3 separate regions of the Homo sapiens genome follow, and all the other regions are linked to region 1. Evidence: promoter capture Hi-C in 16 types of primary human blood cells and fetal thymus (Javierre and others, 2016). All regions are on one chromosome and are shown on one strand. The core of a region is centred on a gene start or on the middle of the fragment in contact, and the rest is flanking DNA. Distances in the headings are between cores, read along the strand shown. Region 1 holds the start of NUDT15 (nudix hydrolase 15). Region 2 holds the start of GTF2F2 (general transcription factor IIF subunit 2). Region 3 holds the start of COG3 (component of oligomeric golgi complex 3).

What was found. Contacts are between HindIII fragments. The CHiCAGO score rates a contact against its expected background, and 5 or more counts as called.
Region 2: a contact is called between the fragment with the promoter of GTF2F2 here and the fragment with the promoter of NUDT15 in region 1, in 2 of 17 cell types (total B cells and non-activated CD4 T cells). The highest score is 6.2, in total B cells.
Region 3: a contact is called between the fragment with the promoter of COG3 here and the fragment with the promoter of NUDT15 in region 1, in 6 of 17 cell types (total B cells, monocytes, activated CD4 T cells and 3 more). The highest score is 12.1, in total B cells.

The regions. Positions count from the first base shown.
Region 1 is chr13:48,036,395-48,039,196 of GRCh38, forward strand. It overlaps NUDT15 (nudix hydrolase 15), which reads left to right and starts at 1,332. Exons shown (of 3, transcript NM_018283.4): 1 at 1,332-1,510. The coding sequence starts at 1,353. It overlaps LOC124903172 (a long non-coding RNA gene), which reads right to left and starts at 1,598. Exons shown (of 2, transcript XR_007063788.1): 1 at 1,212-1,598. RefSeq lists enhancers at 460-1,336, 1,337-2,212, 1,379-1,618, 1,669-1,828. The HindIII fragment of the contact is 6,950 bases long and covers 297-2,802 here.
Region 2 is chr13:45,119,123-45,121,924 of GRCh38, forward strand. GTF2F2 (general transcription factor IIF subunit 2) reads left to right here and starts at 1,388. Exons shown (of 8, transcript NM_004128.3): 1 at 1,388-1,599. The coding sequence starts at 1,534. RefSeq lists enhancers at 1,018-1,661, 1,422-1,551, 1,662-2,303. The HindIII fragment of the contact is 3,497 bases long and covers 1-2,802 here.
Region 3 is chr13:45,463,592-45,466,393 of GRCh38, forward strand. COG3 (component of oligomeric golgi complex 3) reads left to right here and starts at 1,348. Exons shown (of 23, transcript NM_031431.4): 1 at 1,348-1,619. The coding sequence starts at 1,446. The HindIII fragment of the contact is 5,472 bases long and covers 1-2,802 here.

The sequences.
Region 1 (2,802 bases), core at 82-2,581:
CATTTTATTTCTAGTTTGCTCAGAGATTTTGTGGAGTTTTTTTAATCACAACTGAGTATCGGATTTTATTAATTTTTTTCTGCATCTATTGAGATGATTATATGTATTTCCTTTCTCCCTCTGTTAATATGCTGAATTACATTGGCTTTTCAAATATTAAGCCAACCTAGTATTTCTGGGATTAATCTCATTGTTCAATATATTATCCTTTTTATATACTACCATTTTTTGAGAAGATATTGTAAGTACCTTTGTAATGAATGTGAATGTTGATAGTGAGGAGAGATGCTGTGAAAAGCTTAATACCCATTTAGTATAACATGGAGAGTAAGCATATTACTTAGAAATAAGTAGGCAAATATCAGAAATACAGTTCAAAGAGTTAAAAGTGATTGTTTCTGAAAGTAGGAGGGTCAGGTTGCTCTTGTTGCGGTTTTTGCACCATTTTACTTCTTAAAATTATAGCTATAGGTCAGGCGCAGTGGTTCACGCCTGTTATCCCAGCACTCTGGTAGGCCCAAGTGGAAGGACTGCTTGAGGACAGGAGTTGGAGATCAGCCTCGACAAAAGACCGACAGCCCACCTCCACAAAAAAAAAAAAAAGAAAGAAAATTAGCTAGCTTGGTGAAAATTAAAATAAAATAAAATTACCAGTATGTGCACATTACTTTGGTAGAAGTAAAAATAATGAGAAAGAGAGAAAACCCTCCCAGTAACTAGTCATTTGTTTTTATGATTCAGCTGGTTTGTATTTTGCATGGTGCATGGTGTGCAAACATCTGAAAATGTCTGTTTTCCACTGTTTGTAACTAACTCTTCCCAGCATGATTTATCAATTAGCCTTTATTTCCTCCCATGACTTATGAATATACCTTAAGCATAGTTGTTTATAATGGGATGTTTCTAAACGACCTATCCTTATCCTGGTACCACGCTGATTTGAGCTACAGGGCAAATGGGTGCACCATGGTGGGCGAGGTCATTCACGGAAAAAAGAATGTGCAGTGGTGCCGAGGTTGGTAAGAGCAGGCGGCTTGTACATGTAAATGCATGGTTTGCAGGAATCTGGGAGTGGATAGGCTGACGGGTGATGAATATTCAAAGCACAACTGTAAGCGACTTTAGTTACAGCGAAACTCTAAGGCACGCTGCCCTTCGGAAGGAAACACGGCATTCCCCAACCTGATAGCCCTCCGCGACGCATTACGCACCGCGGACAGCTGGAGAGGCCGAGGCGCTCTCGCTTTGATTTCGGCGCCTCCGCCCTCGCGGGGAGAGATTGGCTGCGGCCGCGGGACGGGGTAGTGAGCGCGTCACTTCCTGCCGCTGCCAGGCGCGTCCTCCCGCGCGCTATGACGGCCAGCGCACAGCCGCGCGGGCGGCGGCCAGGAGTCGGAGTCGGAGTCGTGGTGACCAGCTGCAAGCATCCGCGTTGCGTCCTCCTGGGGAAGAGGAAAGGCTCGGTTGGAGCTGGCAGTTTCCAACTCCCTGGAGGTCATCTGGAGTTCGGGTGAGCAGCCGCGGACGCGAGGAAACCGGGGCGTGCGCAGAGGGACGAACTCACGCCGTGCTTGCTTCCGTGTGCCGTGCGTGAGAACGTCCGCGCTGACGCTGCGTCCTTTCTTGCGCGTTCCCTCGGTTCCTCCCCTCGACTTCTGGGCGACGTAGGATCGCGCCCAGGAGGGGGCGCTGTGCTGGGTCAGGCGAGGTCTTTGCTAGCTGGGTCTTTCCGGCTGCGCCCCTGCTGGGTGGTGGTTGGGAGTTCGTCTGTGAGGTGTGTTTCTCACAGCTTACACACAAAAGGAGGAAAGCAGGTGTGTGTAAACCTCCAGCAGCCCGATATTGTCAGCTAAGACATTGCACCGTTTCCATGTGATTGATTGATTGATCGATTGATTGATTTGAGACTGTGTCTCGCTCTGTAGCCCAGGCCAGAGTGCAGTGGTGCTATCTCCAGTCACTGCAACCTCCGCCTCCTGGGTTCAAGCGATTTTTGTGTCTCAGCCTCCTGGTAGCTGGGATTACAGGCGCCCGCTACCACGCCGTGCTAATTTTTGTATTTTTAGTAGAGACGGGGTTTCGCCATGTTGGCCAGGCTGGTCTCGAACTCCTGACCTCAGGTGATCCACCCGTGAGGTCAATGACCATAGCCAACATTGAGCTCTAATGGGCTTTTTGTTAAAGGCTGGATAATATGCCAAGCTCTTTGCATGTATACTTTCATTTGATCTTTACATAACTGGCATACTCAGTGGGCTAAATTTGATGGGAGAACAAACAGGAAATGGTTTTATTTTCTCCTTCCACTGCCTTCAAACATGATTTTTTCTTTCCCTCTTCAGTGACGTTTCCTGCAAATTCTATAGTTTTCTTGTCACTTGGTTATAAAAATAAATCACATTTGGGTCAGTATGATTCACTTCCAAGCATTTAAAAGTCCAATCCAATTTAAACCTTCAGTGTCACTTCCAGTTTCTAATCCCTCCCCTGCAGTGCATAAAGGAGGTGTGAGCCATTGTTCTGCTTTTCTGTATCCTCCTCCTCTTCTCACCTGGCTGTCTCTGAGTTTCCTTCTTTCTCCAGTGTGTTGGAGGAGGAGAGAGAGCAAGCCATTCAGGTGACTGATGCTGCTCTGATCCATCCATTGGTGTCCTCTGGGCATGATATCCACATGTGTGCTTTCTCAGGGTATGTTTGTCAGTTGTTGGGAAGTCCCACAGAGATTTTCCTGACATAGGTGACGGGCTTTCTGTGATGCTGGCCCACCTCCTAGCTCTTGCTTTTAGCACATCACCCCACATT
Region 2 (2,802 bases), core at 138-2,637, 2.9 Mb before region 1:
AATCCTCCCACCTCAGTCTCCCAAAGTTAGGGTTACAGGGTTGAGCCACTGAGCCTAGCCTGAAACTTTCATCTTCAACACACTCCTGGTCTCTCCCATCTTTCCTATTAGTTTTCCTAGCTAAAAGCAGAGTTCTGACAGCTTTTCCTGGCCCTATGCTGAACACACATAAAATTTCCTCAATTTTGTGCAAGGCTCTGATGTGTGATTCAATAAATTACTTGCCATTCTTAACAATACCTTACTGTTTGTTTCTCTTCAGCGAATGTTCTTTCACCCAAAGCCTACTGAAACCTGACAATGTGTTAAACACTGTGCTAGACATTGTGGATATAAAATGAATAAAGCACTATTTTTTATTTGTCAATTATACCTCAATAAAGCTCTTTCCGCCTAGGAGGAGTTCATTGTCTGGAAAGCAAAGGCAGATATGTAAACATATATATTATAGTTCAGAGTGCTAAGTATCACACTGTGATGTGAAGAAAAACTAATTTCTTCTGGGGAAGTTGATAAAAGATCTCATAGGAAGTGACATTTTCATTGGTCTTGAACCATAAGTAGGAGTTTGCCAACCAGAGCACAGGGGTGAGAGTGAGGGCAGGGGTAAAATAGGGCTTCCAAGGGAAGGGAATCCAGTGTGCAGAGGCTCTGAAATGACCGACGAAGATTCTGACGTGTTTAGGGAAGTCTGCTGGGTTTGATGTGGTTTGGTGCATGGCGGAGTGATGGTGGGAGGTGCAAAGAGATGAAATTGAGAGGGCCCAGTTGAAGCAGGAGGATTGAACTTTATTCTAGAGGCAATAAGAGAAAGAGAAAACTGTTTAAGCAGGGGAGGAAACGATCAGGTTTGTCTCTTACTTGTTCGTTTCGTTACAGACTTCCGGGTTTTGGAAACTGAGGTGCTCCGCTTGCTTCATCAGAACAGCTCGGGTAGCCTCTGAGCTGAAACACGGCTTTTTTTTTTCCAGGTCTAGAAACGGCATGTTTTCAATATACCCAAGGCTACTAAGTTTGATCCCAGTGCCCATTTGTGCTAATGACGTTGGCCAGGGACGCCAATTTACTACCCTGACCCTGTCCTTCAAATATTGTCTCTCTCTCCTTGGCTAGGGTTGGACATGTTCTGACACCTTTCGTCTCTTTGAACCCCATTTTTCCGTTCTGATAATCTTTTTCTTCAGTTATGCTGACCATGTCTTTAAATACATTGCTAACGTTTTAGCTCATCCCACCCTACGTTTTAATCCCTCAGATGCAGACATCGCGGACAGCCACGCCCACTCAAGAAATTTCCGAAACAGAAAGTTTGTCTGCAACAGCGCGCCGTACTGACGTAGCAGTGCGCAGGCGCAGTCCCGGCTCCTGGCGGCGTGTTCCTCTTTTCCTCGGTTCCCAGTGTTCTGGCAGGTAAGGAACGCCGGCTCTTCGCCTCTCAGCGCGGCTTGTCCTTTGTTCCGGACGCCCGCTCCTCAGCCCTGCGGCTCCTGGGGTCGCTGCTGCATCCCGCACGCCTCCACCGGCTGCAGACCCATGGCCGAGCGCGGGGAACTCGACTTGACCGGCGCCAAACAGAACACAGGAGTGTGGCTAGTCAAGGTAATGTTCGCGAGTCTCCCACTTGCGCTCCTCCTAACACAAGTATAGTTTAAGTAACTTGAGCCTATCCCGCTCCGTGCGCCTCTTAAAGTTCTTTTACGGCTATCTCGTTAGAGCTTCACACATTTTGAGAGGCAGGAGTCATTGTTGTATCTGTTTGCAGACGAGGAATTAGTTTAGGGACGCAAAGTGTCTTTCAGCCAGTTACTACTCTGAATCTGCCTGGACTAGATCTCTTTCTCACGGCTTTCCTGGAATCTTGTCTTGGTGTCCCCAGATTTGGACGGTGCATTTTATCCCAGACTGAAGAATTCCTTGTATCTTCCCTTGGTGAAACTGGTTTTAGCCATGAGCCTGCGTGAGGTAGTTGAATGTCTACTTTCTGTACAGTTTTCTCGGCCAGAAAGTAGGACTGGTCCCTGCCTACTCTTAAAAGTGTTCTCTTAGGTTGATGGTCCTTAATGAAGCTCTCAAAAGAGGCGAGAGAGCCCCAAACTCACAGAAGGAGAGGTCATTGGACTGGAGTATTCTTTTAGAGCACATTTGGGTCTCGTGAAACTGGCCGTCAATAAACGTTTTATGTGAAGACAGCAATTTTGGTTAGCTCACAGTAAGCACTATTTGTGCTTTATTGTTTCATATTGGGGAGTGTTTTCTCCTAGGGGAGTTTCATAATACTTAAGCATATTCAAAATGTGATCCTGAAAGTCGTTGAAACTTAAAATGTAAGGACTTTTGGTTTCTTAATGCTTTAACTGTTTTATCACATGGCTGAGTTCTCGTCAATTAAATCTAAGAGGTCTTTCTTGTCGGCCTTCCTAAAACAGCCCCCTTGTGATCATTTGCTAACACGACAGATGTGTATTACATTCTTCAAAGCACTTTTCACAGTGTAGAGTGATTTTGTGTTCATATGTTCAAAGTTGGTTACCTCTGTCTTTCCAACACACAGAATCACATTCCATGAGAACAGGATCTTTGCCTGTCATACCCAGAATAGTGTTTGGCGCATGGTAATTACTCAACAAATAGATGATGAATAAATGCATGACCTCTCATTCTTCAGCCCTCGCCTTAGTCTGTGGCACTCATTTGACTTATTTCCAAACTCAGTGTGACTTAAAAGGATGGATTAAATAGGCATTTCTCTCTCCAGCAGCATGTTACTTGGGGGGAGAGTCACTAAGGAGGAGATTGCCCTTA
Region 3 (2,802 bases), core at 98-2,597, 2.6 Mb before region 1:
ATGCACCTCCACGCGCAGCTAAGTTTTTTTGTATTTTTAGTAGAGACGGGATTTCTCCATGTTGATCAGGCTGGTCTCGAACTCCCGACCTCAGGTAATCCGCCCACCTCGGCTTCCCAGAGTGCTGGGATTACAGGTGTGAGCCACTGCGCCCGGTCTCAAATTCTGCTCTTAAAAGATCAGAGCCTTCATTTGGGAACATAGCCAGGCACTGATTTGTGCTATAAAGCCTGAATAAAGCCTTCAGACTTTACCCAGACAATGGTCAAAATTGCTACGAAGCTGTTTCCACCTGCCTTGACTCCAGGGAGGAGCAGGAAGAGGCCTCCATAACTTGTAGAAGATTGTCTGTTCTCCACCATTTATTTATTCAATCGTTTATTTATAGCAGTATGGACTCATGGGTATTTATTTTATTCTGTAAATTATGATCCAATACTATCATTATTTATTTTGTTGCTCAAATCTACAATATGATTTAAATGGTAGAGTAGAATTACATGTCTGTACCACAAATTATTATTATTATACATTTTGAGACAGTCTCACTTGATGCCCAGGCCGGAATGCAGTGGCAAGATCTCTGCTCACTGCAACGTCCACCTTCCAGGTTCAGGAGATTCTCCTGCCTCAGCCTCTCAGGCTGATTACTGGCATGTGCCACCACGCCTGGCTAATTTTTGTGCTTTTAGTAGAGACGGGGTTCAACCATGTTGGCCAGTCTGGTCTCAAACTCCTGACCTCAGGTGATACGCCCACCTCGGTCTCCCAAAGTGCTGAGATTACAGGCCTGAGCCCCCGCGCCTGGTCTGTGCCACAAATTCTTGATCCAGTTCTTCAATGTTGGACATTTAGGTTGTCTCCAGTTATTTGATACCATTAATGATGTCTGAGATACACACATCTTTGAATTTTTTATGTGTTTCCGTAAATTAGTTTTCTAGTAGGGGAATTACTGGATGTTGGAAAAGTTTATGCTTTTGGTTTTGATCCAAGAGGCATAAATTGTCAACATGCCAACATGGAAATCATACACTCCACACATTCTACCCAGACTACCCAGCTGTAAGCAGAGAGGTGTAGATCCAAGTCTCCTGCCGGCAGGGTGATTTAGCGCAGTTGTCAATAATCTGTACAACACGTAACAATAAAGTTATTGATGTTGAGGAAAAGACTTCCGGTAGGGGCATTTCTATTTCCATTGGGTCCTGTCTTCTCCACCTTCTACGTTTCAACCGGAAATAGTCGTACCCATTTAAAGCCACGTCGGTACTGGCCTCGGTCCCGCCCCCCACACTGCGGAACCGTTTCCGGGGTCAGGGCATTCCGTCCCGCCCCGCCGCCGGTGCAGTGTTGGAAGCTCCGGTTCTCCCGGAAGTGGCCCAGGTCTCTCTGTCGGGGTCCCCTCCATCTCGCTGCTGCTGAAGGCCGCGAGGGCGGCGGCGATGGCGGAGGCGGCGCTGTTGCTGCTGCCTGAGGCGGCGGCGGAGCGGGACGCTAGGGAAAAGCTGGCTCTCTGGGATCGGAGACCGGACACGACGGCGCCGCTGACCGACAGGCAGACGGACTCGGTATTGGAGCTGAAGGCGGCGGCAGAGAACTTGCCGGTGCCAGCTGAGGTGAGGTGATGGGCAGGAACCGGGCCGGGGCGATGGGGCTGGGATTCTCCTCGGGCGCCCCGGCAGGACCCCGGCCTCACTAGCCTCTGCCCAGGATATCTCTCCACTCCTCCCTGGCCATGGTGGCGGATCCGGTGGGAGGGGCCTCATCTCCCAGGCTGTCAGGCTTCGCTCTGCCTGCGACCCCGACTCTAATTCTGCCTGGGGACGGCTGTGGGGGTGTCCTGCAGCTGGTGCTCGCCGGAACCCAGTCCTCCCCCAGCAGCATGGGACGGTTGGCCCGGAGCCTTGCACCGAACGTTTTGCCCCAGACGAGGCGTCCTGTCAGCCGAGGCGTAATCCTGCTGCCCACTCTCTCCCAGAAGGAGAGGCAGTCAACCCGAGGTGCTGTGCTGCAGGACAGTCTCCAGCGCGTGCTCGTTTACCGCCTTAATGATTCACCTAGGTTGCTTTGTCCATGGGGGTCTTGGGGAGACCAAAACTTGGTCCTGAGTGAGTTTCATTTATCGCACATTGAACTATGAGCTCTCAATCAAGTGCAAGTTATGGGAGATCAGATTTATTTCACCTATTGCAAAGCAATAAAAATGAATTTTATTTGAAAGTTGGCTCAGTACATTATTAAGCAGTGCTGGTTTTCGGTGTTAGAGTCAATGTGTTTAATCCACTTACCATTAGGATATTATGCACTACTGCTTCTTGTGTGATTCAATTCAATTAGTTGTAATAGCAGGAAGTAACATGAATTGTCAGATGTTTGACAAACGTTTTCCAGTTTTGAGGGCCAGGTTTAGGAGGATTATTTTATATAAGCAGTGGTGATGGTTACTTTTGATGTTGGAAGCATTCTTTTCTCTCGCTCTGTCGCCCAGGCTGGAGTGCAGTGGCGTGACCTCGGCTCACTGCAACCTCCACCTCCCGGGTTCAAGCGATTCTCCTGTCTCAGCCTCCCGAGTAGCTGGGATCACAGGTGCCTGCCACTACACCCGGCTAATTTTTTGTATTTTTAGTAGAGATGGGGTTTCGCCCTGTTGTCCAGGCTGTTCTCGAACTCCTGACCTCAAGTGATCTGCCCGCCTCGGCCTCCGAAAATGCTGGGATTACAGTCGTGAGCCACCGTGCCTGGCCTGAAGCATTCTTTTTATACGATTTGGAATTGTGTCCAAATGCAGATTGAGTTTAG